Linked DNA regions of Homo sapiens: regions 1, 2, 3, 5 and 6 are each linked to region 4. The links are contacts of gene promoters, found by promoter capture Hi-C in blood cells and fetal thymus (Javierre and others, 2016). All regions are on one chromosome and are shown on one strand. Each heading gives the region's core, a stretch centred on a gene start or on the middle of the fragment in contact. The rest is flanking DNA. Distances are from core to core; before and after follow the strand shown.

Region 1 (2,882 bases), core at 210-2,709, 690 kb after region 4:
AAAAAAAAAAAAAAAAAGACAGTTCACCAATCTCTTGCCTATTTGGTTTTGGTTTTCAGGTTTTGATTCACCCCTTGAGTCTGAGGCTTATAAAGCCTTCTTTGGAACTGAACTTTGGCTTTTCTGGCCTCTAAGGCCTCCCTTGTAAGCTACTCTTATTCTGCGAATAATATGGTTTCTGGCCACCTTGCCTACAACCATGACCCATCATGGGTATAACCTGCTGCTTACATCCCCACTAATGTTTACAGGCCTGCAAAACAGGAAATAGACATGAGATTTTATATTCTGTATTCAGAGCATAAAGGTCCTCATCTACATGAAATTCAGTTATTCAGAAAGCTTTCCTCTTTAGAACACAACTGAAAAGAAAGAAGGGGAAATGATTGAGAATAGTGAAAATCATGAAGGCCCCCAACGTTGATGCCCATGAACAGAAATGTATTACTCAGAGAAGAGCTCCTCACTCAAAATCAATGTGATTTTATATCATATGCACTTCTAACACACATGATAATATGGTTTGCAAAGCCCACATCTGATTGGAGGAGAAGAGATGGAGTGCTATGGTCAGGAACACCAATATCAGTCAGATGGGAAAGCTGACTTTCTGACAGGAAGAGAGGAGACAAAAGTCTATTATAATGGCACACAATAAAAACAAAAAGCCCAGTGGTAAATATCCCTAATACAATAGGACCTCTCTGTAGTATAATAGATCACAGTAATTGCTGCGACTTTCTTTTTAAATCAGCATTTAGCAATTTGAATATAATTGTCTTATGGGGAAAAAAGCTCTCAAGTTAGTAATATCTAAAAGTCGATGTACAGCTGAGCTTATTAGAAATGCTATTAGTAACATCAGAAATGAAATTCTGCTTAATTGCATGCCCACGAAGTGACAAATGCTACATATTTTATTTCTGGGTTTCAGTTGTGGGGATCAGGATAGGCTGCAGTGTACCTCTGTAAACATTTGTAAAAAAACAAGCAATACTCTGTGGTTTCATTAAGTAAAAGAAACTCTGGGCCGGGTGCGGTGGGTCACGCCTGTAATCCCAGCACCTTAGGAGGTTGAGGCAGGCAGATCACTTGAGGTCAGGAGTTTGAGGCCAGCCTGGCCAACATGGTGAAACCCCGTCTCTACTAAAAATACAAAAATTAGCCGGGCGTGGTGGCGGGTGCCTATAATCCCAGCTACTTGGGAGAATGAGTTAGGAGAATCACTTGAACCCAGGGGGTGGAGGTTGCAGTGAGCCGAAATCGCACGGCTTCACTCCAGCCTGGGCAAAAAAGTGAAACTCCATCTCAAAAAAAAAAAAAAGAAAAGAAAAAGAAAGAAAGAGAAAAGAAACCCTGGGTTATTACCAACTTCCATGACTTTCCATGTGCCATTCCCTCTTTTGTAATAAATCTCCTCACACCTCCAAACCCTGTGGTCTTCACGGGCCAACTGCTTCTCATCCTTCCATTCACATCCTCTGGGAAGCTCTCCCCAACGACTTCCCCCTCCTAGCTGGAGTTATGTATCCCCTAGTACTGCCACAGTGCCCTCTTCCTCTCTCTGCTGCCTACCACATGGCCTGCTACACTCACCTGTCCAGGGGTGGGCACCCTCACTGCCCTCTAACTCCCCAAAGGCAGGTAGCACGTCAGTTGAATGCATCATTGGTCCCTTCGTTCCTGGTAACTAGCCAACTCCCAGTATACATTCGTTAAGTGGATAATGTTCCCATCCAGGTAGCTTTCCACATGAGGGAATCTGCATTACAACTGTGGCAGCAAGAAGAAAATACTCTAACAGAAGGAACACTGAGCTACACTAGGCCAGAGGGTTGGTAGCTTTTGAGGGTGAAATTCAAGTTTTTGTCCAAATTCCAGTGTGCAGCTCTATTCTATTCCAAGGCCACAGATTTCACTGCAGGCTTAACAAAGGCGTCCTTCTCACTCATGTCACTGGTCACAGGAGGACTCTTCACATATACTTGTGCTTCCCATCTAGTGCTAGAGGCAACAGGGTGAGACTGGGCAGAAAGGGGCCTGTGGGCCCACAGAATTTACAACCCTAGAGGGATTAAAAAAAATGCTCCTTCAAAGAAAGCCTTGTGAAGAGGAATTCTCTTTCAGACTGTGATCAAAAGACATTTTTTGAGCAATCAAAATGAACCATTGCTCTATACAACCACTGAGCTTATAACCATTGTTAATGACAGGTCAGTGGCTCCAATTTCATATAAAAGGTCAGAAAATTTGAGATGAGAAGTATCTGGTATAACTGTCTGTTAGACTGGGAACTAGGAGCCTACAGATCTGGGTTCTAGTCTGGTTTTTTCACTAATTATTTGGCAGACTACAAGTCATAGAATCTGCCTGGGTCGCTGTTTTCTCACCTGCAAGCAAGAGAGGTGAGTAAGAGGGTCTCTAATCTTCTATCATCAGCCAGCTTCAGTCAAGCTGGTAAGGGAAAATTGAAACCTACAACTAGATTGAGCAAGGGCAACTGCAGCTCATAGGAGACAACTCGGTACTGTCAATCCAGATAAGGAGGCAGATAACTTTTTGGCACAATAAGCTTCCAAAGCTAGGTGAAAGATTAGCTCTTACACTGAGAGATGTTTCTTTTTTCACTTAAAAAATAAAAAAGGGAGGCCAGGCATGGTGGCTCACGACTGCAATCCCAGCACTTTGGGAGGCCAAGGCAGGCAGATCATTTGAGGTCTGGCATTCAAGACCAGCCTGGCCAACATGGTGAAACCCCACCTCTAACAAAAAAAAAAATACAAAAATTAGCCTGGCATGGTGGCGTGCCCCTGTAGTCCCAGCTACCGAGGAGGCTGAGGTGGGAGAATCACTTGAACCTAGGAGGACAGAGGTTGAAGTGA
Region 2 (2,720 bases), core at 21-2,520, 750 kb after region 4:
GGGATTTAGCACCATAAACTTTCCTCTTAACACTGCTTTCACTGTATCCCAGAGAATCCCAGAGGTATGTTGTGTCTCTCTTTTCACTTACTTCAAACTTTTTTCTTTTTTTTAAATTATTATTATACATTAAGTTCTAGGGTACATGTGTACAATGTGTAGGTTTGTTACATATGTATACATGTGCTATGTTGGTGTGCTACACCCATTAACTCATCATTTACATTAGGTATATCTCCTAATGCTATCCCTACCCCCTACCCCCACCCCACAACAGGCCCTGGTGTGTGATGTTCCCCTTCCTGTGTCCACGTGTTCTCATTATTCAATTCCCACCTATGAGTGAGAGCATGCGGTGTTTGGTTTTCTGTCCTTGTGACAGTTTGCTCAGAATGGTTTCCAGCTTCATCCATGTCCCTACAAAGGACATGAACTCATCCTTTTTTATGGCTGCATAGTATTCCATGGTGTGTATGTGCCACATTTGCTTAATCCAGTCTATCATTGATGGACATTTGGGTTGGTTCCAAGTCTTTGCTATCGTGAATAGTGCCACAATAAACATATATGTGCATGTGTCTTTATAGCAGCATGATTTATAATCCTTTGGGTATATACCCAGTAATGGGATGGCTGGGTCAAATGGTATTTCTAGTTCTAGATCCTTGAGGAATCGCCACACTGTCTTCCACAATGGTTGAAGTAGTTTACGGTCCCTCCAACAGTGTAAAAGTGTTCCTATTTCTTCACATCCTCTCCAGCACCTGTTGTTTCCTGACTTTTTAATGATCGCCATTCTAACTGGCATGAGATGGTATCTCATTGTGGTTTTGATTTGCATTTCTCTGATGGCCAGTGATGATGAGCATTTTTTCATGTGTCTGTTGGCTGCATAAATGTCTTCTTTTGAGAAGTGTCTGTTCATCTCCTTTGCCCACTTTTTGATGGGGTAGTTTGATTTTTTCTTGTAAATTTGTTTAAGTTCTTTGTAGATTCTGGATATTAGCCCTTTGTCAGATGGGTAGATTGCAAAAATTTTCTCCCATTCTGTAGGTTGCCTGTTCACTCTGATGGTAGTTTCTTTTGCTGTGCAGAAGCTCTTTAGCTTAACTAGATCCCATTTGTCTATTTTGGCTTTTGTTGCCATTGCTTTTGGTGTTTTAGCCATGAAGTCCTTGCCCATGCCTATGTCCTGAATGGTATTGCCTAGGTTTTCTTCTGGGGTTTTTATGGTTTTAGGTCTGACATTTAAGTCTTTAATCCATCTTGAATTAATTTCTGTATAAAATTTCTGCCTTAATTTTTTTGTTTACCCAAAAGTTATTCAGAAGCAAGTTGTTTAGTTTCCATGTACTTGAGTGGTCTGAGAGTTCCTTTTTTTGTTTGTTTGTTTTTCAGACGGAGTTTCGCTCTTGTTGCCCAGGCTGGAGTGCAATGGCGCGATCTCAGCTCACCACAATCTCCGCCTCCCGGGTTCCAGTGATTCTCCTGTCTCAGCCTTCCAGGTAGCTGGGATTACAGGCATGCACCACCATGCCTGGCTAATGTTTGGATTTTTCATAGAGACGGATTTCTCCAGCTTGGTCAGACTGGTTTCAAACTCCCGACCTCAGGTGATCCGCCTGCCTCGGCCTCCCAAAGTGCTGGGATTACAGGTGTGAGCCACCACACCCAGCCGAGAGTTCCTCTTATTGATTTCCAATTTTATACCACTGTGGTCTGAGAAGATGCTTGACATGATTTTGGTTGTTTTTAATTTATTGAGATTTGCTTTATGACTCAGCATGTGGTCAATTTTAGAGAATGTTCCACGTGCAAATGAGAAAAATGTGCATTCTGTGGTTATTGAGTGTAGTATTCTGTAGATGTCTATTAAGTCCATTTGGTCAGGAGCCCAATTTAAGTCCAGAATTTCTTTGTTAGTTTTTTGCCTCAATGATCTGTCTACTGCTGTCAGTGGTGTGTTACAGTCCTCCACTACTATTGCATGACCGTCTATCCCCTTTCTTAGGTCTAGTAGTATTTGTTTTATAAATTTGACTGCTCTGATGTTGGGTGCAATTTTTTTTTTTTTTTTTTTGAGACAGAGTCTCGCTCTGTAGCCCAGGCTGGAGTACAGTGGGGTGATCTCAGCTAACTGCAACCTCCGCCTCCCAGGTTCAAGCAATTCTCCTGCCTCAGGCCTCCCAAGTAGATGGGACTACAGGTGCACACAATCACGCCCAACTAATTTTTGTATTTTTAGTAGAGATGAGGTTTCACCATGTTGGCCAGGCTGGTCTTGAACTCCTGACCTCAAGTGATCTACCTGCCTTGGCCTCTAAAAGTGCTGGGATTACAGGCATGAGTCACTGCACCCAGCCGGGTGCATTCATATTTAGGATAGTTAAATTTATTGTTGAATTGAACCATTTATCATTATAAGATGGCCTTCTTTGTCTGTTTTTTTTTTTTTTTTTTTTTTTGAGATGGAGTCTTGCTCTGTCACCCAGGCTGGAGTGCAGTGGCACGATCTTGGCTCACTGCAAGCTCTGCCTCTTGGGTTCATGACATTCTCCTGCCTCAGCCTCCTGAGTAGCTGGGACTACAGGCACCTGCCACCACGGCCGGCTAATATTTTTGTATTTTTAGTAGAGACGGGGTTTCACTGTGTTAGCCAGGATGGCCTCAATCTCCTGACCTCGTGATCCGCCCGCCTTGGCCTCCCAAAGTGCTGGGAT
Region 3 (2,781 bases), core at 212-2,711, 670 kb after region 4:
CGGGGATTACAGGCGTGAGCCACCACACCCGGCCATCTATAAAGTTTTTAGAACAGTGACTGGCAATGAGCAGATGGATGCTGATTTACTGTCTGGTTTCTCCAAAAGCAGACCCTGATTTCGGAGATGATCCCAGAAAGTACCAGTAAGAGTGAGAAAGTGAGACAGGAAAGGGAAGGAAGCCAGTAAGGAGCAAGTTATCAAGCAGGTTACCACTGTGCATGAGGAGCCCAGTCTCACTGGGGAACTCTGGGAACTAGTGAGGAACATGCACTTCAGAGTCACCCTCAGAAAAACAAGGAAGCTGGGGTATTTACACGCTAACTCCGGTCAGTCACTGGGTGAAGGCTGCTCCCAGGGTGTTAATTCTCTGGCACCTTCAGCCTGCTCCAGCTGCCAGAGAAAGCCCTTGGGCAGTTGGAAATTGGGCTGCCAAATACCCAACAATGGGAGGAAACCCAATGTTCAATAAATATGCCATCGTCATCATCACCACTGACAACCAAAGGCAAAACCTATGAAAACAGGCTATTCCGGCTGAAGCTGCAGGGAGAGATGTGGATGGGGGTCCCAGGATTTGGCACTGGGTGCCCAGTGATCTCATAGTAGGTGAGGTACCTGACTCAGCTCTACAGAACCCTAGGGATTCGCAGACCAATTTGGGGAGCACAGTTCTTAGCATTTGTGAATACTGGGAGTGATTCAAAGAACATAAAAATGGTATATTTAACACACCTGTTATAAGGAAAGGAAGCTTCAGGTAATGAGTATACTATCACTGGCAGTGATTCAAATAAGATAAAAATCTACCTCTCTCAAGGAACTGCAGCTTAGTTTCAAAGACAAAATATGAACATAGTACAGTAAAGTAAGCAGCAATGCAAGTTGAGTGTCCAGGGAGTGGAGTAGAAGTTGAGTGTCCAGGGAGACTACCACTGGCTGAGGTGGTCAGAAGGAGCTCCCATGAGTAAACAAGATTAAGCTTAGCCCTATGGGATGATTTCTTTTTAGGCTCGCAGAACAGAGGCAAAGATACAATGATTGGGCCCGAGAGCTCCCCTGATTGAGATGCTGGTTGTCATGTGGAAGGCCTGGGGCCGGGACTGCTGCTTCATGCAACCCCTCAGTTATGCTGGACTAGGCAAAGTGCTTTACTGAGTGGCAATGCCGTTCTTCAAAAATCATCACTTCCAGAGGTAGATCCAGCTTTCATCCTCTCTCTATCCCTGCCCTGCCCTTCCATGTTAAATATTCTCTCTCATGTCATGATAATAGCTATCAACAACCCTGTGAAGTAGGCATTTTTACTGCCATTTTACAGATGAGGAGACTGAGAGTAAGGGTTAAGAAATCTCCCTAAGGGTTCTCGGCCAGGCGCGGTGGCTCACGCCTGTAATCTCAGCACTTTGGGAGGCTGAGGCGGGCGGATCACGAGGTCAGGAGATCGAGACCATCCTGGCTAACACGGTGAAACCCCATCTCTACTAAAACTACAAAAAATTAGCCGGGCGTGGTGGCAGGCACCTGTAGTCCCAGCTACTCGGGAGGCTAAGGCAGGAGAATGGTGTGAACCCGGGAGGCGGAGCTTGCAGTGGGCCGAGGTTGCACCACTGCACTCCAGCCTGGGCGACAGAGCGAGACTCTGTCTCAAAAAACAAACAAACAAAAAAGAAATCTCCCTAAGGGTTCTCAGCTAAACTGGGATTTAAACCCTAGTCTATCTAATTTTAAAGCCAAACCAAATCACTATGCTTTAATGTCTCCAGTTCAAGCAGAGAAGAAAAAAACACTCTTTTAATTACTTTAGATTTGAGATAGTCAAATTAGATCCTACAGATTGATCCAAAGCACTTGTATTTAGAGGTTGATTATTCTTCCTCATTATCAACACAGCTATGGATACTACTTCTAAGGCTACACAGCAACTGCTGCAAGCTTATGGAGAGCAGTTTGGGAAGGGACAAATGAGAATAGATTGAAATCCACTTGAGTGACGGCTTCCCTGCCTTGGTCAACAGACGGTACATTTATGGCATTCTTGGATCTCTAGAAGTAGAAGAATTCCTTGAACTCTGAGTTCAGGCCCATTTCTGCCAAATTGCAAGGCTTATTTAGCTATTACTTAACATTCCATCTGTTACCTTTTGGCAGGTTTTTAAAAAATCAAATATACTCATTACCTGAAGCTTCCTCTCGTCATAACAGATGTGTTAATGATATCATTGAGGCATTCATTCATTCATTCATTCATTCCTAAAAAGACAGCTTAGAAAGTAGAGAGGGTAAGCCGGGCGCGGTGGCTCACGCCTGTAGTCCCAGCACTTTGGGAGGCAGAGGCGGGCGGATCACGAGGTCAAGAGATCGAGACCATCCTGGCTAACATGGTGAAACCCCGTCTCTACTAAAAATACAAAAAATTAGCCAGGTGTGGTGGCGGGCGCCTGTAGTCCCAGCTACTCGGGATGCTGAGGCAGGAGAATGGCGTGAACCCCGGAGGCGGAGCTTGCAGTGAGCCAAGATCGCGCCACTGCACTCCTGCCTGGGCGACAGAGGGAGACTCCGTCTCAAAAAAGAAAGAAAGAAAGAAAAGTAGAGAGGGTGAAATATTAGCCTTGATGTACAGTTAAGGGAAGAGACATGACCAATAATGACCCTTCAGTTTGGTCTGACACCTCCATTCCCTGCAGCCCAGTCAGAATCCCTTGAGGCAAAAGCACTGCAAGATTCTGGAGTAGATCAATGACAGGGCAGGTGCAGTCTCTGCTCAGCATTCCATTTAAG
Region 4 (2,700 bases), core at 97-2,596:
CAGTTTGGACCACTGACCTGAGTCAAAGCTTTTGAGGTTTTAAGGTACCAGACATCTTTCATCTTTTTATCCTCTTGTTGAATCAGAAAAATGTCTTCATTTAGTCTGTTATAAAAATGTCTAGTATCTTTAGGATAAATTAGCCCTATCCTACAAGAGTGTTATACCTCGATTTAGTAGAGATTATTTTTCTTTAGTATGAATGAAATGACATCACAGCTTTTTTTTCTTAGTAACAATAGAAATCAGTCATTGAGCTTTTGTTCCTTTATATGAATAAAAATATTTAAAATGCTTATTAATTTTTCTTTGTTTTATCAAGTACTCTGGGAAACTAAGTTCATTTGAATATTGTTGGTAAACATTATCTGTGAATGGCTCTTATGCACCATTCAGGGCTCTCTTCATGCATTTTTTTCAAGCTATTAAATAAAACAAAATTGGGATAAAAATAAAGACAAAGATGAGACAAATTCAATGAAAAATGAATGGGAGTTTTGGATGCTTTATTATCTAGTTCTGAGTGACTTGTTTATGCAGCATAAGTAAAAACAAGCGTTTACCTCAGCTTAAATCTGCAAAAGCTTAAGGAAGGGTTGCAAGAAATTCAAATCCACTATCTCATTCACAGCACGAGCAGATTTAATTTCAGTAGACAAGATATAAATTAAGGTTATAAAATTAAATCTTACCTGGCAGTGGTTTGTTTGAAGCTCAGTAATTTGAACTCTGGCTGGAAATAGTAAGCTTCGAGACCCAAAATGCCTTCTCTACTTTCCTTTCATGTTTTATTTTGCCAGTGTTTTATTTCTTGCAGTGTCTTTATATCTGTATTCCTGATAATCCTGTAGCATTAGTTAGGATAGTATGCGGTAGATGAAGACTCCATTTGGATAGGATTATAGAACCAGAAGGGTGAGTTTTGCCTTTATCTGGTAACAGCAGTTGATCTGATCACAAACAATCTGAGTGTTGAGAACTTATTAAAGATTCATTGAATGCTTCAGCAATGAGAAATCCTGGTTGTTCCTATATGCATTTGACCCCCTGGAAAAGTTCTGCTTGTTCGTATTTCAGAATTACACACGCTTCCAAATCAAGCTGCTTTAAAAAACATTATCTGGACTAGAAGCATGGATGTTCTTGCACTCTTGCTTTCCTTTCTCCATACGAACTTTTCAGTCCATCAGCTTCCTTTCTGTAGAAGATGAAGGCATTTCTTCTGTCCTCCTCATGCTTTTGTAACCCATGCTTCTGGTACCCTGTTTTTTGAATAGTGAGGTAAAAATCCAGAAGGAAGTACGGCTTTATCATGTCTCTGGACGGTGAGCGTACTTGGCATGAATGAAGAGCTGATAGGAGCTATTCAAACCAGACAGCAAACTGATGGGATGACGCTGCCATACATAAAAAACTCATTAATTACTTCCCCTGCTGGACAGCAGTATATCCTGAAAGGAAGAAAGAAAGGAGCAGATGATGATATTCGTTTTGATAGGTGTTCTCTGTTTGAACAGCTTGTCATTGAGAAGAGAATCCAGGAAAAGCTGCAGCTTCAGAGTGTGATCAGGTAGAATGGGCAAGAGTTATTTGACAGACAGTTAAGTGACGTATTTTGGGAGGAAAAAGAGGGCTTAGCATGGAGGTAGCTGGAATAAGGTTCCAAAATGCTTTTGAAAATGTTCATTTTTTCCTGTTAGTCTTTTTGGCTAGAAGCTTTTTTTTTTTTTTTTTTTTTTTTTTAAGCTTTGCTAGGCATTATTCACAGACATGTTGCTGAGTTATTTTCTCATATGGTTTTCCCTAAAGATGGAAAATAATTTTTAAAAGTCTTTGAGATAGAAAGAGTATACTGTGAGTTTTAAATATTTGTAGCAGAGAAAAGGCTGCCTTTTTTTTTTTTCCTAAATGTATGCCTGTTTTTATACATCTTTTGGGCATATGCGTTTTGTTGCTTTGGAGTAAAGCATTATAAGTCCTCATTTGATACAAACTTTTAACAGGGTCTTCATTAAAGCTTTTCCTTAAGTTAGATGAAATCCATATTAGCTGTATAAAAGAATAGATTTTTAAATGTCAATTTCATAATTTTTGCACTTCAGTTTTTAAATTTAAAATTCAAATTTTTAAAACTGCACTTCAGTTTAAAATTTAAATTTTAAATTTAAACGTTTTTTCCCTGCCTGAGTTCTTTATGAGTGTATCTAGACAATATAATGTTTTTAAATTTTAAAAAATTATTATGGAACATTTCAAACTTACACAAAACTCTGAAAAATAATACAAAAATAATACATGAACCTCCAGAAACTCATTACCAAGATTCAACAATTGTCAGATTCAATTCTTTGCTAAAATATTTTAAAGCAAATCTCATTTCACCTATTTGTACTTTAGTATGTATATTTTTAAAGTATGGACACTTTTTCACATGACCCTGTGCCATTATCACACCTAACACATTGGCTATAATCCTCTGGAGTCATATAATATCCAGTTCATTTTAAATTCCTTGTGTCTCAGAAACTATGTCTTTATGTAGGTTTTTTCTGAGTGAGAATCCAGACAAAGTATACACTTTAATTGTTAGCCAATAGAATTTTAAACACTGACAGATGAACATGTATGAGAAAGAAGTGAATTTTAGTTTTATAGTGGTCTTTGACACACATTTGTAATAGGAATATTTATGCAAGAGAA
Region 5 (2,759 bases), core at 89-2,588, 730 kb after region 4:
TTTGTGACATGTCTTTCGCCTGCATCTGTGAGATGGTTAGTCTTTTTCTAATTGATTTGTAGGAGTTCCTTATTTTTTTCATAAGATCCTTTGTCAAATGTGTGTATTATAGTCTATTCTGAGGCTTTCCTTTTTTACTTTCTTAATGACATTTTGGATAAACAATAGTTATTAATTTAGAAAAAAATCTAATCTGTGAAATGTGTCAATCCATTCTTTTTTGCTTTCTGCCTTTTAGAGGTCATAAAACTACTCTCTGTGGTTTCCCCTAGAATTTTTTATCATTTACCTTTTACTCAGGTTTACATTCTTTTGGAATTTATTTTCTTTTCTGTGGTGTGAGGTAGAGATTAAAATTTGTGGGGTTTTTTTTCCATATGGATATCCAATTGATCCAGCACAATTTATTGAAGATACTATTCATTTGCAGTGGTGTCTTATTTTATGTCTGGTGACCATATATGTGTGAGTGTTTCTGGATGCTTTATTCTGTACAATTAGTCTCTGTTCCTATCCTTGTGCCAAAACTACACTAATTATTATAGCTTTATAATTAGTATTGATATGGTAGCTTAAATTCTGCACGATTATCTTGGCTTTCTTGGCCCCTTGAATTTCTATATAAATTTTAAAATCGGTTTTTCAACTTCTACCAAAACAAAAACAAAAAACCTTGCTGAGATGTTGATTGGAGTTACATGGAATCTATAGATAAAGTGAGAGGATAATTAGTATCTAAACAATAATTTTCCATGGCCAGGTGCTGTGGCTCATGCCTGTAATGTCAGTGTTTTGGGAGACTGTGGGGCGGGGGAGGTTCTATTGAGGCCAGGAGATCGAGACTAGCCTGGGCAACATAGCAAGACTCTATCTCTACAAAAAATAAAACAAATTATCTGGGCATGGTTGTGTGTGCCTATAGTCCTAGCTACTCAGGAGGCTGAGGCAGGAGGATGGTTTGAGCCCAGGAGGTTGAGGTAAAAGTGAGATATATTGCACCACTGTATTCCAGCCTGGACCACCGAGTGAGATGCTATCTCAAAAAGAATAATAAAAATAAACAATAGTTTCACACACCATGATATCTTTATCCCTTCGTTTATTTAGATATTTAATTTCTCAAAATAACGTTTTACAGTTTTCTGTGTGGTGTTCTTATACACTTTCCATCAGATTTATTCCTAGGTATTTAATATTTTTAATGCAACTGTGAATGCTGTGTTAATTTGATTTTCTTTTTTTATTAATATTAAAAATAAAATAGAGACGGTGGCCAGGTGTGGTGGCTCATGCCTGGAATCCCAGCACTTTGGGAAGCTGAGGCAGGTGGATTACCTGAGGTCAGGAGTTCGAGACCAGCCTGACTAACATGGTGAAACTCTGTCTCTACTAAAAATAAAAAAATAAAAAAAATAAAAAAGCCAGGTGTGGTGGCACATGCCTGTAGTCCCAGCTACTTGGGAGGCTGAGGCAGGAGAATTGCTTGAACCCGGGAGGAGGAGGTTATGCCACTGTACTCCAGCCTGGGTGACAGAGCGAAACTCCATCTCAAAAAATAAAAATAAAATAATAAAATAAAATAGAGACAGGGTCCCACTATGTTGCCCAGGCTGGTCTCAAACTCCTGGGCTTAAGCGATCCTCCCACCTTGGCCTCCCAAAGTGCTAGGATTGCAGGTGTGAGCCAACATGCCAGCCTTGATTTTTTAATTGATTACTGTTAGTGCATAGAAATACAATTGGTTTCTATATATTGAACTTGTATCATTAATCTCACTAAATTCACCTATTCTAAAAATTTCTTTTAGCTTCTCAACTATAAATAATAACAATTGTACTTTTTCCTTTTCAGTCTTTATCTTTTTATTTCTTTTTCTTGCTTTATTGAATTATTTGCAAGCATTTGCAGGCATTATTTGCTGGTATTATTTACAGGCATTTCCATTAATGGACTCAATCCTATTGCATAAAATGAAACTTAGGATAACAAAACAAAATAAAACAAATGAACAAACAATGAACAGAAGGTATTGGCGAGTGAATAAAAGCAAGCAGATTCTGGAAGGGATCTGGCACTTGGAAAAAGAGAATGATGGGCATTATTTCCCCTATTTTTATAGTTTCTAGCCTGAAGAAAGACCAAACTGGGTGTGTAAGATGCACCAGCAGAGAAAACCTATAGTCTTTTTGGACTAACAAAATAGAGAATAAAGAGTTTGAGGCAGCCAAAGATACTGGGGAAAAAGTAGAGAGTCAGACATGGGGAGTTCCTAAATCTGTGTCTAAACTATACCTGAATCTCTGACTGGACTTCCAAACCATGCATGCTCAGGGCAATGTGTGAGCAGCCCAGCTGAGGACATAAGACCACAACTGAAACTTGAGCTGCCACCAAGACACAAACTGCAGTTTGAATCCAACATCAGGGTTATATCCAGCTTAGTTTTCATTGATTGTCTTCTTTTAAAAATGAATCACATTTTCCTGGTTCTTTATAAGTTTAGCAATTATGGATTTTAAATGTTGAGCATTGTGAATGTTAGTAAGAGTCTAGGATATGAATCGTAGATACCGCGTAACTTAGGAAAGCACCTTTCATCAGCCTCTCAGATTATGTTACCTAATTCTTGGCTCTGATCTCTTACCTAGATCCAAAGCCCAGGATGACTCCTCTCAAACAGTGAAACCGGGATCAATTTTGGCAGACACCACCCAAAGAAACATGGCCAGTTTTTCCTATTCCAAACCTGGGTTTTCCTC
Region 6 (2,700 bases), core at 69-2,568, 710 kb after region 4:
ACAGAATGAAGAGAACTTTGTGAAATATTATGCCCTCTTTGAGTAATCTCACACTAATGTAGTTTTTTCTCAAGTTGTCTCTTAGCTAAGATAGTCTTCATTCCATTTGCCCCTTATAATCAAGATTATATTTTTTCCAAATCCTTGACAAACTAATTTCACCAAAAGCTGGAATATCCTTTTGAGTCTTAATTTATCTTAAAATAGAAATGGCAATTTTAAAAAAAAAAAAAGCATAGAGAAGCATTTTAACCTATTTAGGTTAACAAGATTGCATTAAAAGAGTATTTTTCTTTTATACTGAGGCTTAGAAATGGTAATTTACCTAACTTCTTTTATTTTTATGAAAAGTCTTTCATCACTGTTCTGGTTTCCCTCCTAGTCAGTAGAAATGTAGAGGAAATACATTAATTAAATTCTCTAATAAGATTCTGTAGCTATTGGCCCTAAACTCTAGGGAAACCATAAGTCCCTAATTACAACATATCAGTTTCAATTAACTCTTCAAATTATTCCCGAGGTGTACCTGAGAAAATGAAAGAGTTGCTAATAAATTTTAGAAAAGATTGACAGCTCTTTCTATGGCTGTCAGGGGGCCTCTGTGGACCTATGGGAGAAAACCCTAACCTACATTTGGGAAATTTCTCATATGGTAGCTTTTATTTTCCTGGGACAGTTTCTGGACTTAGGTTTTTTGTGTACTGACTTTTGTGGAGTTGGATTGATCTTGGGCATGATGGCTGTGACTGCTTTTGTTGATTTTAGGTCTGTATCAGAGAAGTTCCTGCTGAATGTTTCACATTTTCAAGCCCCAGTTTCAACTAGCTAGAGTTAGGCACTCAGGTTGAGAGCACAGCAGGGCTGGAAGACTGTCACTACAAGTGAGAGAAGCAAGACCAAGACGAGATGTCATCTTCAGTGTGAAGGACTAGCATGGAGGGCAGGAGGTTGAAGGACTCGTCCAGCAAAGCTCTCTAGCCAGTGCTTTGGGCCTGGGATGACAGTCAGGCTTTTTAAGATAGGACCTTTTAGGCATGGCTGCTGTTTCTTGCTTATGAGGTCCAGGAGATGTAAAGAGTCCTGTCTAACTTATTCTGGTCAGGTTCCTTCACTGTACAGTTGTAGTAACTTCAAACTGGAAACTCTTTTTTTTTTTTTTGAGACGGAGTCTCGCTCTGTCGTCCAGGCTGGAGTGCAGTGGCGCCATCTCGGCTCACTGCAAGCTCCGCCTCCCGGGTTCATGCCATTCTCGTGCCTCAGCCTCCCCAGCAGCTGGGACTACAGACGCCCGCCACCATGCCTGGCTAATTTTTGTATTTTTAGTAGAGACGGCGTTTCACCATGTTAGCCAGGATGGTCTCGATCTCCTGACTTTGTGATCCGCCCACCTTGGCCTCCCAAAGTGCTGGGATTACAGGCGTGAGCCACCACGCCCAGCCTGGGAACTCTTTTTAAAAGAAAAAAAAATCTGAAAGAATTTTGAACACTTTGCTCCTGGTTCCTTGCCTCTTCCGCATGTGACACTTAAGGGTTAGGCAGCCTGCTGCTTATCTGCAAGCTATATAACAACAAACCACACGCAAAACTTAGAGGCTTAAACCAAGTACAAACTTTTTCTCCCCACAAACCTACAATTTGGGATGGCTTTGTGGGAACAACTACTATTTTGCTTATAAAGTATTAGCTGGAGCTCTTAGACTGGAGGACCTACCTTCAAGATTTCTCACTCACATAGCTGGGAAGTTGGTACTGGCTATTGCCAGAATGCTTTTTCAGACCCAAGTCTTGATTCCTTTCCATGAGCTACTTGGGCACCCTCAAAGCATGAGTTCCAAGAGAACCAGGCCTCCTTGTATCTGGACACTGGAAGCAAAAGGGCCACATTTTGTGCCACTCACAGAATCTACAAAGCCCTCTCTTCTCCAGAATGCTAACCATTATGAATTTTGTGATAATTATGCCCTTTCTTTTTTTTTGTAAGTTTATCACCTACAAAACTACCCTAAAACAAGGGTTCCTAGCCCCTGGCTGCAGACCAGTGCAGGTCCATAGCCTGTTAGGAACCAGGCTGCACAGCAGGAGGTGAGCGGCTGGAGCGAGCTTTACCGCTTAAGCGAGCTTTACCGCTTGAGCTCCGGCTCCTGTCAGATCAGCGGTGGCATTAGATTCTCATAAGAGTGCAAACCCTACTGTGAACTGCGCATGCGAGGGATCTAGGTTGCACCCTCCTTATTAGAATCTAATGCATGATGATCTGAGGTAGAGCAGTTTCCTCCTGAAACCATTCCCCCACCCTTGCACCCCGTGGAAAAATTGTCTTCCATGAAACCGGTCCCTGGTGCCAAAAAGGTTGGGGACCACTGCACTAAAACATTTTGTTTACTCTATTTTGTACTTTGTATGTCTTGAATTAGAATATGTACATTCTTCTGTGATCTACCTCTTTTGATCAACATTATGATTGAGAGATTCCTGTATGTTATTGACTACGATTATAAATTATTTCTTCTATTGTGTGTCTGTTATTTCTCCATTCTACTGTTTATGGACATTTGGGTTGCTTCCCGTGTTTTGCTATTACTAACAATGCAGAGCAAAAATTATTGTACACTCTCTTCTGGGGTATAAGTGCAAGAGTATTTTCAGGGTACTTTGTATAGAGAGATTGATGTCTTGTAGGACAGGTACAAGTTCTATTTT

The links. Contacts are between HindIII fragments. The CHiCAGO score rates a contact against its expected background, and 5 or more counts as called.
Region 1: a fragment that was not itself captured here is called in contact with the fragment with the promoter of CHRM5 in region 4 in 6 of 17 cell types (erythroblasts, endothelial precursors, megakaryocytes and 3 more); the score reaches 10.1 in erythroblasts.
Region 2: a contact is called between a fragment that was not itself captured here and the fragment with the promoter of CHRM5 in region 4, in 3 of 17 cell types (M2 macrophages, megakaryocytes and erythroblasts). The highest score is 8.6, in M2 macrophages.
Region 3: a fragment that was not itself captured here is called in contact with the fragment with the promoter of CHRM5 in region 4 in 4 of 17 cell types (megakaryocytes, erythroblasts, M0 macrophages and 1 more); the score reaches 9.7 in megakaryocytes.
Region 5: a fragment that was not itself captured here is called in contact with the fragment with the promoter of CHRM5 in region 4 in 3 of 17 cell types (megakaryocytes, erythroblasts and M0 macrophages); the score reaches 8.8 in megakaryocytes.
Region 6: a contact is called between a fragment that was not itself captured here and the fragment with the promoter of CHRM5 in region 4, in 1 of 17 cell types (erythroblasts). The highest score is 5.7, in erythroblasts.

Annotation. Positions count from the first base shown.
Region 1 is chr15:33,281,564-33,284,445 of GRCh38, reverse strand. No RefSeq gene overlaps it. Among named protein-coding and RNA genes, the nearest start is that of RYR3-DT, 28 kb to the left of the region's middle. The HindIII fragment of the contact is 2,230 bases long and covers 345-2,574 here.
Region 2 is chr15:33,218,761-33,221,480 of GRCh38, reverse strand. No RefSeq gene overlaps it. Among named protein-coding and RNA genes, the nearest start is that of FMN1, 25 kb to the right of the region's middle. The HindIII fragment of the contact is 4,772 bases long and covers 1-2,720 here.
Region 3 is chr15:33,298,787-33,301,567 of GRCh38, reverse strand. No RefSeq gene overlaps it. Among named protein-coding and RNA genes, the nearest start is that of RYR3-DT, 10 kb to the left of the region's middle. The HindIII fragment of the contact is 953 bases long and covers 985-1,937 here.
Region 4 is chr15:33,967,143-33,969,842 of GRCh38, reverse strand. It overlaps CHRM5 (cholinergic receptor muscarinic 5), which reads right to left and starts at 1,346. Exons shown (of 3, transcript NM_012125.4): 1 at 693-1,346. All of the region lies in intron 2 of AVEN (apoptosis and caspase activation inhibitor), which reads left to right. The HindIII fragment of the contact is 969 bases long and covers 750-1,718 here.
Region 5 is chr15:33,236,888-33,239,646 of GRCh38, reverse strand. It overlaps the pseudogene TMCO5B. Among named protein-coding and RNA genes, the nearest start is that of FMN1, 44 kb to the right of the region's middle. RefSeq lists a silencer at 1,253-1,422. The HindIII fragment of the contact is 6,436 bases long and covers 1-2,759 here.
Region 6 is chr15:33,256,492-33,259,191 of GRCh38, reverse strand. No RefSeq gene overlaps it. Among named protein-coding and RNA genes, the nearest start is that of RYR3-DT, 53 kb to the left of the region's middle. The HindIII fragment of the contact is 7,151 bases long and covers 1-2,700 here.